Regions from separate parts of the Homo sapiens genome. Here regions 1, 3, 4, 5 and 6 are each linked to region 2. Evidence: promoter capture Hi-C in 16 types of primary human blood cells and fetal thymus (Javierre and others, 2016). All regions are on one chromosome and are shown on one strand. The core of a region is centred on a gene start or on the middle of the fragment in contact, and the rest is flanking DNA. Distances in the headings are between cores, read along the strand shown.

The links. The method cuts DNA at HindIII sites, captures the fragments that hold promoters and counts their contacts. A CHiCAGO score of 5 or more calls a contact.
Region 1: a contact is called between a fragment that was not itself captured here and the fragment with the promoter of HDAC4 in region 2, in 3 of 17 cell types (neutrophils, M0 macrophages and M1 macrophages). The highest score is 6.6, in neutrophils.
Region 3: a contact is called between a fragment that was not itself captured here and the fragment with the promoter of HDAC4 in region 2, in 9 of 17 cell types (M1 macrophages, M0 macrophages, M2 macrophages and 6 more). The highest score is 13.6, in M1 macrophages.
Region 4: a fragment that was not itself captured here is called in contact with the fragment with the promoter of HDAC4 in region 2 in 4 of 17 cell types (M0 macrophages, fetal thymus, M1 macrophages and 1 more); the score reaches 8.9 in M0 macrophages.
Region 5: a contact is called between a fragment that was not itself captured here and the fragment with the promoter of HDAC4 in region 2, in 6 of 17 cell types (M1 macrophages, M0 macrophages, neutrophils and 3 more). The highest score is 9.6, in M1 macrophages.
Region 6: a contact is called between a fragment that was not itself captured here and the fragment with the promoter of HDAC4 in region 2, in 3 of 17 cell types (neutrophils, M1 macrophages and M0 macrophages). The highest score is 6.8, in neutrophils.

Annotation. Positions count from the first base shown.
Region 1 is chr2:239,921,308-239,924,007 of GRCh38, reverse strand. It overlaps a transcript of NDUFA10 not described here. Among named protein-coding and RNA genes, the nearest start is that of MIR4786, 20 kb to the left of the region's middle. The HindIII fragment of the contact is 2,710 bases long and covers 1-2,654 here.
Region 2 is chr2:239,399,684-239,402,383 of GRCh38, reverse strand. HDAC4 (histone deacetylase 4) reads left to right here and starts at 1,364. Exons shown (of 27, transcript NM_001378414.1): 1 at 1,364-1,406. It overlaps HDAC4-AS1 (HDAC4 antisense RNA 1), which reads right to left and starts at 948. Exons shown (of 2, transcript NR_135575.1): 1 at 848-948; 2 at 27-309. RefSeq lists an enhancer at 156-285 and silencers at 416-685, 956-1,075, 1,096-1,535, 1,546-1,715. The HindIII fragment of the contact is 12,493 bases long and covers 1-2,700 here.
Region 3 is chr2:239,983,246-239,985,945 of GRCh38, reverse strand. The region is part of intron 9 of NDUFA10 (NADH:ubiquinone oxidoreductase subunit A10); the gene reads left to right. Among named protein-coding and RNA genes, the nearest start is that of NDUFA10, 41 kb to the left of the region's middle. The HindIII fragment of the contact is 6,987 bases long and covers 1-2,700 here.
Region 4 is chr2:239,965,528-239,968,227 of GRCh38, reverse strand. All of the region lies in intron 9 of NDUFA10 (NADH:ubiquinone oxidoreductase subunit A10), which reads left to right. Among named protein-coding and RNA genes, the nearest start is that of MIR4786, 24 kb to the right of the region's middle. The HindIII fragment of the contact is 8,260 bases long and covers 1-2,700 here.
Region 5 is chr2:240,002,566-240,005,265 of GRCh38, reverse strand. It overlaps NDUFA10 (NADH:ubiquinone oxidoreductase subunit A10), which reads left to right. Exons shown (of 10, transcript NM_004544.4): 8 at 1-56. Among named protein-coding and RNA genes, the nearest start is that of NDUFA10, 21 kb to the left of the region's middle. The HindIII fragment of the contact is 5,215 bases long and covers 1-2,700 here.
Region 6 is chr2:239,946,562-239,949,261 of GRCh38, reverse strand. It overlaps a transcript of NDUFA10 not described here. Among named protein-coding and RNA genes, the nearest start is that of MIR4786, 4.8 kb to the right of the region's middle. RefSeq lists an enhancer at 2,605-2,700. The HindIII fragment of the contact is 2,383 bases long and covers 242-2,624 here.

The sequences.
Region 1 (2,700 bases), core at 50-2,549, 520 kb before region 2:
TGATCCATGTCATCTAAGTTGTGAAATTTATGTGTGCAGTAATGTTTGTAATATTTGCTCCTTTTAATGGCTGCAGGGTCTGTAGTAATATCACCTGTTTCATTTCCAGCATTGGTAATTTGTGTCTTCTCTCTTTTTCCTTTGTCTGTCTTGCTAGAGGTTTATTAATTTTATTGATATTTTCATGGAAACAAGTTTTTATTTTCTTGATTTCCCTTATTTTTCTGTTTTCAATTTCATTGATTTCTGCTTTTTAATTTTCTTTTTCTTTTTTTTCTTGCTCTGTGTTTATTGTGCCCTTTTTCCTAGCTTATTTGTGTAGGAATTCAGATTATCTTGGCACTTAAATTATTGATTTGGGACTCTTCCTCTTTTCTAATGTAAGCATTTAATACGCACCCCACAAATTTTGATGTGTGTGTTTTTATTTCTATTTTTTCTGTATTATTTACTTTTCTTCTAGGATATTTCTTGAACCCATGTATTATTTATAAATCTGTTGTTTAATTTTCAAGTGCTTTGAGATACTCCTGTTATCTTTTTGTTATTGATTTCTTCTTTGGTTTCCTTATGGTCAGAGAACATATTTTGTATGGTTTCAGTTTTTTTTATGAACCAGGATATGGTCTATTTGGGGAATTTTTCATAGGTATAGAATGTATATTATGCAGTTTGAAGTGCAGCAGTCTAGAATATTAGATACTTTTGTTTGATAGTGCTCAGTTTTTATGCATCTTTGCTGATTTTGTGTCTAGCAGTTGTATTGCTGAGAGAAGGGTATTGAAGTCTACAAGTTTATTTGTGGATTTGTCTATTTCTACTTTCAGTTTTTGTGTTATGTATTATGAAGCTGTGTTGCTCAGTGGCTATGTATTTTGGATTGCTGTGTCTTCTTGCATATTGACCCTTTCATCATGATGTATGTAATGGCCTCTTTTGTCCCTGGTAATTTTCTTTGCTCTGACACCTACTTTATCTGATAACATATATAGCTACTCATACTTCTCTTCTTTTAAGCCAACATCTGCCTCCATCCTTTACTTCTAATTTACCAGACTTTGATGTTCTTGAGCCCTGGCAATGCCAGTTGCTCCTTGGTTTGCAGCCTCATGGTAATCATTGTCCTTTCTACTTCGCAAAGGTGTGGTATCCGTACCCTACCATCTTACCTGCTGGCACACTGCACACCTGTGATGGGGCCGGGGATTCTTAGGGTGCTTACAGCTCCAGGATGACACCTGGGGTGGAAACCCACTTCACTCTCCCTCACAGTCTGCCTCATCAATTTTAAACCAGGTGTCCCTGGAATCATAGCTGTCATATCATGTTGGTACAGGGGCTGGGATGAGCCCAAGGACCAAGGCATTGTGGCGTAGAAAAGTCAACCTGACGGACGACAGTGGTAATGGCAATGCCCAGCCTCTGATTTTTCCCAGGTGACACCGCCTCTATCCCCTGAGAAGTCATTGTACTGTCTAGAGGAACACATGGTCACTATCCGAGAAAGACATCCATGTGTGGGAGAAAGACCTGTCTCTGTGTACCTGTCATGGAAGGTGGAGGTAGGGCATGGTCTGTGAGTGCTCCTCTCTGTCCTGGGGTCCCTGATGCCTTGGCCTGCAGCTCACTGCCTGCCTTGAGCCCCTCTGAGACTGGGTGGTGGCATTGAGGGCTCCCAGGCTGCCCAGCCATAGTCAGCAGAAAGGCAGACTGTGGGGTTGGCCAGCTGAGGTGCCTAGCTGCCTTTCAGCACAGAATCCAAGTCACCCAAAGATAACTGGCCACTCCAGAGCAGAAGTGGGTATAAAGACAAAGGGACACTCAGGACATTTAGCAGCAAGGTAGGAAAAGCTCATTTAGGGGCAACTGCTTATAATTGAGGGGAAAATGGAAGGAAGGGAGGAAGGGAGGAAGGAAGGAAACAAGCAAGGAAGGAAGGAAAGAAGGAAGGGAGGGAGGGAAGAAGGGAAGGAAGGAAAGAAGGAAGAAGGGAAGGAAGGAAAGAAGGAAGGAGGGAGGGAAGGAAAGAAGGAGGAAAGGAGGGAGGGAGGGGAGGAGGAAAGGAAAGAAGGAAGGAAGGACAGAAAAATGGAGGAAAGGAGAAAAGGAAGGAGAGAGGGAAGGAGGGAGGGAAGAGGGTCAGGAGGATGGACCTGAGCAAAGAGCCAGCAGTGTCCCGTCCCCACCCTGCCCCCAGATCTGGCTGAGCCTGGTTCCGTGAGGCCTCACCCAGAGGGAACTGGAGCTCCATCCATAGAACCTCACTAATGTCTGACCCGGCCTCATCCCGGGTCTCCTCGGCCTGGCCTTACAAGGGGATTGTAAAATGCGCCAATCAGTGCTCTGTAGTAGCAAGAGGTTTGTAAAATGCACCAATCAGTGCTCTGTAAAAACACACCAATCAGTGCCCTGTAGCTAGCAAGAGGTTTGTAAAATGGATCAATCAGCGCTCTGTAAAATGGACCAATCATTGCTCTGTAAAATGGACCAATCAGCAGGGATCCTAAAAGTAACCAATCACGGGGAAGATTGAAAAAAGGGCACTCTGATAGGACAGAAATGGAACATGGGCAGGGACAAATAAGGGAATAAAAGCTGACCACCCAAACCAGTAGCTGCAACCTGCTTGGGTTCCTTTCCACGCTGTAGAAGCTTTGTTCTTTCCTTCTCCACTCTTTGGGTCAGTGCCACCTTTAAGAG
Region 2 (2,700 bases), core at 115-2,614:
AATTATTAATGAGATATTTAAGGAAATGTAAAATTGGCATTTTTATTTTGCTAACTGTATTTTTATCCACATAACTAGTTTCCCCCACCAAGAATCACAGGTCGAGAATGCTGTAAAAACGGATCCTTTCTCAGCTCCTAAAAGGAATGGCCTACAATCGAAGCGAACGCGCATCTCCGCCAGGTCCGCAACCACAGGCCCACGCCGTCGGGCCCCACGAACCGGCGCGCGCTGTCAAAGGCGCTTCCTCCCTGGAACGCGGGATTCCGGGGACAGTGTGTGCACTCAAGTTGAAAAGTTGTCATACTCCTGTTGGAAAGAAACGGAAACATCACCACCAGGAGGGTGGCCACTGAAGACCCTCGCCGACACCTGCTGGCAACCAAAGGCGCTTCCGGGGATCTACGGGCCGACCTGTAACTCAACACAAGCCTCCCAAGCCCTGCGGCCTTAAAACAACGCCCACCCGGGCGGTGCGCCGTTCCCGCCACCTCCACGCCTGCCTGGACCCGGACTCGAGACCCTGGCGGCGGGCCGGGCTCCCTCCGCCTGAGCAGGGACGCGGCGAGCGCATCCCACGACCCTCGGCAGCCGTTGCAGGCCTGGCGGACCTACACCCCACACCCTCACGGCCGCGTTCCCGCCGCGGGGCAGGGCGAGGCCCACGGCGCCTGCGCACTCAGTGACCGGGCCGCCCTGCGCCTCCGTGCGCACGCAGCACCACGTGACCCACTGCCAGTATCCAAGATGGACGCCGCGGCGAGGCCTGGCCGGCTCCCCGCGTTAGCCTGCACCCCATTGTGTGCCCTCTAAGCGCGAATTAGGCTCGCAGACATGCGGTGCTGACCGCTAGGCAGCCATGCGGGCTACCGAGTGCGACCGGACACGGCCGGGGCCCGTGTTTACGGCCACTACTGGCCCCCGGTCCCTGCGCCTCCTCAACCGCGAAGCACCCAGCGGCTGGCGCCTGGAGCGTCTTTTGGTACGCCCCACCCTCTAGAATTGGCAGCTCCAGCAGCCAATGAGGTCCAGGACGCGTGCGGGGAGGCGGGCAGGGGTGGAGCCTCTCTGCCGCTCATAGGGCATCCGGCCCCGCGGTTGAGCAGCCGCTGGGCGAGGGGTGGGAGCAGACGGGCTGTGCGCAGGTTTCAGCGGGCCAATGGAAGGCCGGCCAGGCGCCCGGGGCGGGCGGGCGGGAGGCGGGGCCGAGCCGTAATTGACGAGCTCTTCATTAGAAACCAGGCGGGAGGGCGGGGCCCGCAAGGGGAGGTGACGCAAGGCTGCCGCAGCCAATGGTTGGCGAGCCGCCGGCTGGCTGGGCGGGGCCGGGCCGGCTGACGGGCGTGCGGGGTGGCCTATCGCCGCCTGGCTCGACGCTGGAGTGGGGAGAAGCATCATGGTTCAACGTGGGTCAATTTTTTGTGAATGAGGAGGGGAGGTTGTGGGGCCGCCGCCGCGGAGCACCGTCCCCGCCGCCGCCCGAGCCCGAGCCCGAGCCCGCGCACCCGCCCGCGCCGCCGCCGCCGCCGCCCGAACAGCCTCCCAGCCTGGGCCCCCGGCGGCGCCGTGGCCGCGTCCCGGCTGTCGCCGCCCGAGCCCGAGCCCGCGCGCCGGCGGGTGGCGGCGCAGGCTGAGGAGATGCGGCGCGGAGCGCCGGAGCAGGGCTAGAGCCGGCCGCCGCCGCCCGCCGCGGTAAGCGCAGCCCCGGCCCGGCGCCCGCGGGCCATTGTCCGCCGCCCGCCCCGCGCCCCGCGCAGCCTGCAGGCCTTGGAGCCCGCGGCAGGTGGACGCCGCCGGTCCACACCCGCCCCGCGCGCGGCCGTGGGAGGCGGGGGCCAGCGCTGGCCGCGCGCCGTGGGACCCGCCGGTCCCCAGGGCCGCCCGGCCCCTTCTGGACCTTTCCACCCGCGCCGCGAGGCGGCTTCGCCCGCCGGGGCGGGGGCGCGGGGGTGGGCACGGCAGGCAGCGGCGCCGTCTCCCGGTGCGGGGCCCGCGCCCCCCGAGCAGGTGGGCTCCGGGCCGCCGGGAGTGAGGGCGGGGGCGGGCGGGCGCCGGGGCCGGCCGGGCGCCGTTTATGTAACTTTGTCAAATGCTGTGAGTTTGCAGAAAAACGTCCCTGCCGGGGGTCCGCGGCCCCGCGCTTGTCGTCGCCGCTGCGAGCGCCCGGGGGGTCGCGGGAGGGCGGGGGGCTGCCCGGGACCCGCTCGGCTCAGCCCGCAGGGCGCCAGCAGGCCGAGACGGGGCCCGGTCCCGCTCGGGGGTGGGATCCGCGTTTGCCGGCGTTGCGAAAACACACCACGGAATCATAAGCAAATTATCTCGTATTTACATTGAGCGTTGAATTATTTGACACTGTTATAGGAGGAGACCGTGCGTATCAGTTGGAAAGGCCGGGGGTGGAACCCAGTGTACTCATTTAATGCACATCAAAAATTTGTAATAACTTGAGGCAGCTGATATGAGTGTTTTCTTTATTGCATGTTGTAAATTGACCTGCTGTGACACAGTTTTCAAATAAAGCGTTGCAGAAATTAAACTTAAGTTATTTTAAAACTAATGACTTTCTTCACTAAATCCTAATTGCATGACTGTAGAGACCTACCTAATTGCTTGCTGAGAGCAGTTCTGCTTGCTCTCCGTGAGGGAGGAAAGGGCCTGTGCAGTCACTTTGCCGCCCCGTTTTTCTCTGTTCAGGCTTTT
Region 3 (2,700 bases), core at 16-2,515, 580 kb before region 2:
TGTCTGTAGCACTTTTTTTTTTTTTTTTTTTTTTGAGACAGAATCTCACTCTTGTCACCCAGGCTGGAGTGCAGTGGTGTGATCTCAGCTCATTGCAACCTCTGCCTCCCAGGTTCAAGCGATTCTGCTGCCTCAGCCTCCCGAGTAGTTGGGACTACAGGCATGCGCCACCATGCCCAGCTAATTTTTTGTATTTTTAGTAGAGACAAGTTTTCACCATGTTGGCCAGGCTAGTCTCAAACTCCTGATCTCAGGTGATCTGCCTGCCTTGGCCTCCCAAAGTGTGTCTGTATCGCTCTTGCCACATTTTCTGTCTGCCTTGGCGTCCCACAGTGTGTCTGTATTACTCTTGCCATATTTTCTCTCTGCTCTCTTTCGGTTCCAGTTGGTCATATGTTGGACCTTTTCACCATGCACCATATTCTTCGTGTGTCTGCTCCTTTCTGTATATCTTGTCTTTTTTTTTTTTTTGAGTGTGCATCAGCCTAGATGTGTTCTTCTAAACTGCCTTTCAAGTTACTAATCATCCTTTCAGCTCGTTCTAATCTGTTGTTAGACCTGTATTTCTTATATTTGAGTTTTGAATTTTCATCCTGGTTTGTTTTTGATTCTAGAGTTTTCATTGTTATAATTTCAAGTTTACTGCTGATATTATTTTGTCATCTAATTTCTTAAACATATTCATCACAAAGTTACACAGAATTATCTGATAATTGCAGTATCTGTGTCTTTTGTAGGCCTGTGTGAGTGGTCTGGTCCCTAACGTTTGGTTTGGGGTTGTTTAATCTTGGCGTTTGGTGGCCTCATCATTGGTGTTTTGTTGTTTTCCAATGGCAGTCATTTTTTGTGGAGACTTTGCCTGGAGTCATCTCACCCTGGAGAGGATGCGCTTTACCGTCTTCTGGCAGGCATGGAGGTCAGGGCAGGTCCCCTGAGAGCGCTCAGGAAGCAAGCTGGTGACGCTGGGCTTCCGTTTTGTGAGGTCTGGAGTGTTTCTAGCTTGCGCTTACTGAGAGGCCATTTTTGCCAGGGTCCCTTCTTTTTGTTGGGTCCTGAACTGCATGTTTGGCCCCACAGTGCACTCCTGCTGCTGAAAGCTCTGCCGGGCTTCTCAGCCCCCCGGCTCTGCTGGTGGGACCAGGGAGCGCCTCAGGGACGGGAACGTGCAGCCCAGCTGTGTTTGCTTCTTCTCTGGACCTTGGCATCCAGGGCCCTCCCTGCCCTGTTGCCTTTACAGCCTGATGTTGCCTTTGTAGAATTCTTTTCTACATTGTCCCCTGTTTGGTTGTTCAGGAGGGGACAGATGTGTTAGCCGTTTTAACAGTTACATGGTGAGCTCACCTAGCAGTTTTTCAATCACTGTGTTTTATGTGGTTTTGTCTGCTTTTCAGTTTGTGAGCATTAAAGAGAATCTAAGAGAATATATGATATTGGGCTTGTGGTTTGAATTAAATGTTTAGAAATGTTAAAATTTTGAATCGTATTTAAATGACTGGGAAAATCCGATTTTTAAATTTCTAAGCATTTCAAAAAGTAAACTTGAATGTTTAGAACAGTTTTAGATTTACAGAAAAACCGTGACGGTAGTAGTGAGCTCTCATATCTCACATCCAGTTTCCATTTTATTAACTTCTTCTGTGAGTATGGTACACTTGTTATAATTAATGAATTAATAATACTTACTGGGTTTTTGTTTTTTGTTTTTTTTTTTTGGAAACCGATTGTCACTCTATCGCCCAGGCTGGAGTGCAATGGCATGATCTTGACTCACTGTAACCTCCACCTCCCGGGTTTAAGCGATTCTTGTGCCTCAGCCTCCTAAGTAGCTGGTATTATAGGTGCCTGCTACCATGCCCAGCTAATTTTTGTATTTTTAGTAGAGATGGGGTTGCACCATCATGGCCAGGCTGGTCTCAAACTCCTGACCTCAAGTGATCTGGCCACCTCAGCCTCCCAAAGTGCTGGGATTACAGGTGTGAGCCACCAAATTCGGCCCTTATTGTTAACTAAAGCCCACACTTTGAATTATTCAGATTACCTTAGTTTTTCCCTAATGTCCTTTTTCTGTTCCAATACCCCGTCTAGAATATCACATGACATTGGGTCCTCATGTCTCCTTAGGTACCTCTTGGTTGTAACATTTTCTCAGACTTTGTTTTTAATAAGGAGTGCTGGTGAGGTATTTTGTAGACTCTCCCTCAGTTGAGGGTTGCCCGATGTTTCTCTAGCGATTAGATTGGACTGTGTGTTTTGGGGAGGAATCCACAGAGGTGAAGCATCAGGGGCACTTGCTGTCAGTGCAGCCTGGCACCGTGGCCCTGACCGTGGGCTCCTGGCTGAGGTCGTGCTTGCTGGGTCTCCACTGGAAGCTGCTCTTCCTCTTTCCAGAAAGCCCCATGCACACCACAGCCTTTATGTTCCTTTGTTGAGTAAGAATTGTCTGACTGTTTAGAGGATTTTGTTTAAGGAAATTCGGTTGCTTGATATTAAAAAATGATCAGTTGAAATTAAATAGTAATAAATAATAATGACCATTTCTGGAAATTCATAGAATTCCTTTTGTCCATCAGAGACATCAGCAGCAGTTCTCATTGCATTTCCTTCTGGAAACAGCATTGTGGGGATACCTGGAGGTGAATGAACAAAGCCCCTCTGGGTTTCATGTGCAGCTGTTTCAGATCTGGGAAGGTTTGTGGCTTC
Region 4 (2,700 bases), core at 101-2,600, 570 kb before region 2:
ACCTGAAGCCTCTCTCCGTGTTGGTCAGGTAGGATTTCTCCACCCTTTTCGCCCTCCATCACCTTCCATCTTCTACTTTGGGCTTCTCCCACATTCCAACTCATTTCTAGGTTTTTCTAGCCAGAGAAGAGAGGACTGGCTTCGTTCATCTCTCTCAAAGTAGTTAGGACACAGCGTTTCACCAGTAGAAGGAGTTTCCTCCATTAGAATGAGTGACTGTGTGTGTGTGTGTGTGTGTGTGTGTGTGTATATTTTTTTCCTTGACTGATTTCTGTGCGAACAGCTGGCATTTGAAGCACTATATAGGGCATGTCTAAATTGTGCACCCAAGAGAAGAGCCTGGGAGAAACCTCATTGTGCGGCCTTGGCCCTCATGGCACAGATCCCAGGTTGGCTGTAGCATTTAGAAGTGGACACTTTTCTAACATCAGAACTCATCCAGTCCTTACGTTGAATCACACAAACTCAGTGGCGTCACTTTGGATCAAAGAACAGCACGTTTCAGCTGCCTCTGCGACCTCACCTGGAGCTGGAGAATCACCCTGTTCCCCGCTGTTGCCAGGCGCAGGACCTGGCACCTGTAGGCACTTAGCCGGCACAGGACCTCGTACCTGTGGGCACTTAGGAAGTAATTGTGGGCTAAGTGAACTTAAACCACGTCGTGGACTCAGCTTTACTGTCTTGTTGTTACCTTCCTGTACTTTCTTAGGCCAGTGATCAGCAAAGGTTTCCTTTAAAGAGCCAGAGAGTAAAGGTTCCCAGCTCTGCGGGCCACACAGCCTCTCACAGCCGCTCAGCTCTGTGCTGTGTGAAAGCACCACCAGCCAGTGTGTAAATGCATGGGCCAGGTTGTGCCAGTGAGGCCTCATTTACAGAAGCAGTCAGCGGCGAGATTTGATCTGTGGGCTACAGTTTGCCGACCCATGCATGAGGCAGTAAAAGGCCAAGAGCCTGGTATAAATTCATAACGAGAAACCAAGGCTCTGAATCAGCCCCGAAGTGTAAGCAGCAGCATAATGATCTGGAGCAGCATCTTGGCGTTATTAAATTCAACCCATTCCGATGGCTGCGTCAGCATCTATTGCTCTGTTTATTGTTTTTCCTTAAGCAAGCAGTTCCATTTCTAGAAATTTATCTCAAGCACATAAATCTAGAGGGGGCACATCGGTGTTATTTATGACGGGAAAACTGGGAACAGACACAGCCCTAGGCTGGAAGAGGCACAGAGTGATGTACAGCATGGGCCAGTGGTTAGGAGCAGACTCAGGAGCCAGGGGACACGGCTCCAATTCTAGCTCTGTGAACACACTGGCCGTGTGCCACCCTCAGCAAGTTACTTAATCTCTCTCTCTTAGGGAAAAAAAAAAAAAAAAAAAAAAGAAATCCTTGCACATGCTGTAAAATTCAAAAGATGAGAGATGTTCCTTCTTTGTTCCCCAGCCGCCCAGGGCCCCTCCCTCAGGCAGCCTGGTTCAGGTTTCTTTGTAGCCTTCCGGTTGGTGGGGGAGAGGGTAGCACCTGTGTGTGTGTGCCATTCACCCTCTTAACTGTGAGGGTCAGGAAAATCATCATGTTAGTTTACATTAAGCATGGACTTCTGACACACAGATTTGCACACAGATATTTGGGGGAAATCACGAGTGGGTTTGATGAGCGTGTCCAATACTGTCTCTTCTCCAGTCTTTCCTGTATATGAATCAGGATGCACGGGTGGGAACAAGTCCGGTCCTGTGGGGTTTTCCGGGAGAAGAAAGTACAGATCCACATTCCCAAACAGGCTGGGCCACATCCCCAAGCAGGCTGGGCTGCAGTGTGCACACCCTCATGTGTCATTTTGTATCTGCTAGTACAAATGTGCACACCCTCTGCAGCCTGGAATGGAAGCCCACCCTGCTCATCCTCCATGTCTGGGCTCCATCGGGGGCCAGGGGGAGTTGTCATTTCCAGCCCAGCCCCCTGTGACCAGCAGCCCTTAGGGAAAGGAACTTGGTTTGTACACTGAGTCAGCCCAGGTTGTCGGTGACTGGGCAGGGTGCCTCCCAGTGCACTGTCTAAAATCCCTTCCCAGCTCCAGGCCTCGCCCTGGAACACTCCCGGTGGGCCACCAGGGACTGACACACGCCAGGGTCATGGGTGGAGGGCAGCTTAGCTGCTTGGCTCTGGAAGAGGACTTGGAATGTTTGGCTTTGTAATTTATTGAGGTTTTTTTTCCCTTCAGTAAACTTCCTTTTTGATTTCTAATGGAAAATGGAATACAGGGAAAGAGCCTCCTGAAAGTGTTAAACTTATCAGAGCCCTGTGAATGTAATGAGTCCAAAATGCCTTGAATTTAGAGATCCAGCGAGGGAAACTCCGTTCGCATTGTACAGTAGAGGGGATTGCAGAGGATGAGCATTGGAGGGGTTTGTTCCTTTTTCTGTTAGGCGCTCTTTCTTCTTTTGCTCCTTAAGGATTCTTGGTTTGCTCACCCGGTGTATACTCGGCAGAAGCCCTGACTTCTGACAGGAGGAAAATGATTTTCTTTTCATTTTAAAGTGGGTGTACGGCCTTGATAGTTCACCTGAGATAGTTCACCGCATGCCCTTTGCATCTCAACCTTTGGACGCACAGCCACACACATGGGTGTCACGCACCCGGGCACCGTGAACGAGCAGATCCGGGAAAGCGTGGCTCGGGAGGAAGGTCTGACGAGGCCCGTTG
Region 5 (2,700 bases), core at 132-2,631, 600 kb before region 2:
GATAAAGGGCCGTGGCTCAAGCAGGACAATCGCACTTTATACCACCTGCGATTACTGTAAGTGCATCTGTGTGGGGGCTGCTGCATGTCTGGGGTCTACTTGCATGATGGGGAAACTTAGGGAAGTTTGAAATAATTATGTTTCAAGTTAGGTGTTAGCAGCACCAACCCAATACTTAGAGGTATTTTTTCTTCCAAACAGCTCCTGAATCCCCTGGTCTGATACTTAATTTATTGAGTGCCATTATTAATTTAACAGGCATTTTGCTTCCACTATGTGCAACACCGTTCCAGATTTAAGAGATATAGTGTCAGATAAAATTCTTGATGTCTTTGAAAATGTGTTTTAGTAGGTGAGACAGAGTAAACAAATAGATAAAACTGCGTCAGGTCACAAAGGCCAGGGAGAGAAGTAACCCTGAGTAACAGGGTGGTGAGTAGCTAGGGGTGACAAAGGGCCTCTCTCGGGATGAGGCCTAAGTGAGGCCAGGATTGGGTCCTGTGGGCCGTGGGGTGAGCAGAGGGCAGGGGCTTGGCAGGTGCAGAGGCTCTTCAGGCAGGAGTGTGGTGGGAAGGTGCGCCCAGCAGCCAAGCCAGTGTGGCCAGAAAAAGTGTGGGGAGGGGAGGCCACAGCGGAATGGAGCAGGACTAGGAGAGGAGGCCATGGCGGAATGGGGCAGGACTAGGAGGGGAGGCCGCGGTGGAAGAGGGCAGGACTAGGAAGGGAGGCCACTGCAGAAGGGGGTAGGACTAGGAGGGGAGGCCACAGCAGAAGGCGGATAGGTCTTGGTGCGTTTGGTGGGTTTTCTTCTGATGAGATGAGATGCCGTTTGGGGGTTTGAAGCAGAGGAGTAATACGATATGACTTATATCCATTCAGCTATTGTGTGGATTCTTTGGTATCTATTAAATGAAAAACAAAAACCATACCGATTAGGTAAGGTTGAAAAAAGCTGTCTTCATCTGCACCACTCTATTGAAACTGCTCCTGCCAAGGAGACGGCCTCGCCATTCCAGATGCGGCAGACCCTTGTCTGTCTTCATGCTGCTCCCTGGCCCTGGAAGCAGCACCGCTGCCCCTCTTCTCCACTCCCTTCTCCTGGTTCCATGCCCTCCTCCTCCCCCACTCTCTCACTCCTCCACCAGCTGCTGCCTTCTGGGGCCGGGCTCTCTTTTTCTGGTTCCTTCTGCCTGCTGCTGGGCTCTGGCAGGCACAGTGACCCCGGGCAGTGTCTCGTCCGTTGAATTCAGTTTCTTGAGGACGTACCTAGTCACACAGCTGTGGATAGCGTGGATACCACCGTAGGTCTTGGCCCAGACCTTTACCCTGCACACCCAGCAAATATCCCTCGGCTGCCTCTTGCAGTGTCTCTGTGCATTGACCTTCCCACCGGTGATCCCCAGCTCTGCCTCTTCTGTCCTGGCTGGTGCTGGCCACCCGGGAATCTCATCCTGCTTGGGTCTGTCCTCCACCACCCACCCCCTGCTGCTTCTCATCACTGCAACGCCCAGTTCCTGGTACAGGCCTCATATCCAGCGTGCACTCAGGAGATGTATCTGGAGTGAGTGACTTTGATTTCTTTTAGGGCTATAAATTCTACAAAATTCAGAGATGATTTTGTAATGAGAAGTGCTGTTGTATCATAATTCTGATTATTTATAAATCAAGATTGGAGTAATTTGAGGGTCTTTGACTTGTGAAAATGCAGGAAACATGAGTAGCTATTTGGGGATCTGCCTTTTGTGTTAAGTCTCGAGCCCTTGGCCTGAGCCTGCCCTGTGCTGCTTCCTGCCTCTACCCAGGATGCTCTGTGCAGACTGCACCAACACTTTGCCTCTCGAGGGCCTGGAGGCACAAGGATGGCCGGGGCACTCAACTTCCCTCTCCTCAACGTTTGGATGTAAATTAGGAAGTTGGTGCCTACAGATGGCAGCTCTGTTCTTGGCCCTGTGATGTTGGTGTTCTTAGGCCGTTGGTGCTTACCTTCTTTCTCTGCCTGATGGGATGTGAGTGATACAGTAGTCTCCTAGGATGACCAGAGGGACAGCTGGCTCACTGCACATGTCACTAAAAGTTCACTGATCAAAATGTAAACAGAATGTGTAATAAGTTTACTTCTGGCCAGGCAGCGTTCACGTCTGTAAACCCAGCACGTTGGGAAGCTCAAGTGGGAGGATTGCTGGAGCCCCGGAGTTCGAGACCAGCCTGGGCAATATAGTGAGACCCCATCTCTACAAAAAATTTAAAAATTATCTGGGTATGGTGGTGCATGCCTATAGTTTCAGCTACTTGGGAGGTTAAGGTGGGAGGGTCACTTGAACCTGGGAGGTTGAGGCTGCAATGAGCTGTGTTCACGCCACGGTACTCCAGCTTGGGCGACAGAGACTCTGTCTCTCAAAAGAAGTTCACTTCTGTTTGATGTTTTTAGTACAGCATTAATAAGCAAAAAATAGGTTTACATTAAAAAAAACTAGTCATTCTACTTAGTTTGTTAATTCCTGCCCCCCTGTTAAAATAGTATTTGCAAAATCAGTTTTCTAGTTAGTGGAATGGATACTGAAGGGTGAGCAAGGTAGGCACACTGTGGGGTCCTCATGTCAGACTGAGGAGACGGGAAGGGTCAGGTCAGCCCTTAGCTGGCTGTGTGACTTGGGACAAGTCACTTTATCTGCCTGTGCCTCCATATGTAAGATTATGGCA
Region 6 (2,700 bases), core at 184-2,683, 550 kb before region 2:
TCCGAGCCGTGCATCTCACTCCTCAGACACAAATGCTGGTGCTCATTCCTGCCCCAAGCTCCTATCCGTATCAGTGTTGGAAGAAGTCGCTCAATCAGCAGTTGGTTTGCTTTGATTTTACCTTAAAATCCCGACACTATCCTGGTCATAATGAGCTCTCATACGTCCGTCCCAAAGAGGGACATGTGTCCATTGCATTCGTGGGGTTAAAGCAATGAGAAAGCCTGCAAGGCAGGAAGCTTGGGGTTGGGGGCTCCAGGGGAGCAAGGAAGGGTTGGGGGCTCCAGGGGCAGAAGGGGGTGCCCTGTGACTTCTGAGACACTGCATTTGAAGTAGAGAGCCTTCTCTTCTGGACTCCTGCACGCTTTATCTTTGTGTGAACTGTTCCCTGCAAAATAAATACACAGGCCTCTGCTGGCTCCTGCCTAGGCCAGGATGGCTCGAGGCTTGGTGAAGTCCCCAAGGAGGGAGGGCCACCTCGGCTGGCTCTAGTTTTTTCTGTCCCAGACACTGGAGGCCTGGATTTGTGGAAGATGAAGGGACATACTGAGTTGCGTCGTCAGGCTGGCATCTGAGCCACCTTTGCAATCCCTAGTTTGTCCTTGTATTTGGAACGCTGGAGGCTCGAGTCAGGATCCGGGTCCCACCGACGTGTATTTGTGCTTTCAAGATGGCTGGGGCTTTTAGCCTTGGCAGCTTTGCTCGGGCAGGCCTGCTGCTTTTTACATTGGGTTTTCCAGCGACTCCACTTACAGCTGCAAAATGGACAGTGGGCTGTAGACCCTGAACAACGTCAAGTGAGTGCATGTTTTGAACGCCTGTTACTTTTCCGTCGCCACTCATGGAGCGGAGGCTGTGGAGATGTCGGTTACTTTCTGTCCCCTGGGGGCTCAGGACCCAGCTGCAGAGCAGCCTTGAATGAGACCACAGGGAGCCTCTGAACAGGGCCTTGAGGGGCCAAAGGGAGAAGAGCAGCCTGGAGGCCATTGTCCGGAGCACAGCCTGGCTTCGTCTCTGGAATGCGTGGCTGAGGCTGGGAAGAGGGACGGACGTGTGGGCAGGGCCCAGGAGGTTCTAGCTCTTAAGTGTTGGTGGAAATGAGCTGCTATTTCCCTAAGAATTGTACACAATCCTGAACCTTGCTGCCGTTAACTGAACCTCTGGACTTTTGCTCAAACAGCTGTAGTGACGACAGAGCTTGTCCCCCGACCTCACCTCCTCCACCTCACCACCAGAGGATGTAAATTGGCTAACTTGGCCTCGGAAGACCAGCTTGAAGGGCAGGGCCACCTATGCACATGTGACCTCCATGTTCACCCAGTGCCCACGCTCAAGAAGGGCCCACACTTGATTTAATGTTCAGCTGTGGCCGTCCTGAAAGTCTGAACAAGTTTTGGACCAGAGCCTCCCGTTTTCATCTTGCACTGGGGGCCACAGGTTATGTCGCTGCCGTGGGCGTGTTGAGGCACCACCCCGTGCTTCCTGGAGCCCTCATCCCTCTTGCCATCTGGCAACAAGAGCTGGGCTGGCCTGTTGCATAGTCTTTGAGGCCTTCAGTGGATGGAGGAGCTCACGGCAGCAGGAAGGCCGGTGTGTGAGAGGAGCCCCGGGAGGACCCTCACAGGACCCTGGGCCTGGAGGCCTGGGGCTCGGCGGGGAGGGCGGGGCTTGCTCTGGGCCTCAGAGAGTCAGGAGCCGTCCCTGTCTGTGTCTGGTGCGCAGAGAGGGCGGGGCTTACTGGGCCCTGGTGAGGCAGGGACTGTCCCTGTCTGTATCTGGTAGCAGCTGCCTCCCGGTCTTTGTCCAGCTTCTTCCTTAGGCCGAGCATTTGGCTGTGGCTGCAGGAAGCCCAGCGGGGCGTGCAGAAGGCAGGCACACAGGACAGTCACTGAGCCATTTTCCTCTGTGGGCCTCAGGAGCTCTGTCCCTGGGGGCTCTGGGAGTTGGTGTGGGATGTAGGCCTTAGGCACCTGCATTGGTATAGGGCTGTCCTGGTATGACTTCTTGGTATTCCCAGGCTCGGATGCCTGCTGCCAGATAATGTCCAGGGCCTTGGTCTAAGCAGTGTGAGCAGGCGGGACGGCCCCAGATGGCCTGGCCTAGGCCTCCAGGGATTCTGTACCCATGAGGAAGGGGCTGCACTGCAGCCTGGATCCCAGCTCCTTACCCAGGATCCCACCCACACTACCTGCTGAGCACCGGGCTTCAGGACTGAGGAGTCCCATGGGAGGCACAGCACCCACCACCATGGGCTGGGCATCCGTCTCCTGGACACTGCCCTGGCACTTCACGCAGGGTTCCCTCCTTCCGCCAACCCTGTGAGGCCGTGGCCTTATCCTCATTTCACCAAAGGCGGCCTGAGGTTCAGAGAAGTTAGGCAGGACATCAAAGACACACAGCAGGCATTTCCAGCATGGGGCCCTCTGGCCCCAGAGCTTGTGCTTGTAGCCTTCTCTCTGCCTGCAGGAGCCTCACTCTGACTTTCCCCAAAATCTGACCAAAGGGAGTGAGTGCATTTAGCACACCTGGGCACACATCCATGTCAGGCGTGCCTGACAAAACCTCGGTCCTGCCTCCTTCAGGGAGGTCCTGCACCAGCGTCAGGAGCCGTTGAACTCAAAGCTTTAATGTGGACAACAAAGGGATTCATCGAGATGAGCTGGAGCTGGGCTGGAGAAGGTGTAGCGTCCGTGAGTGTTG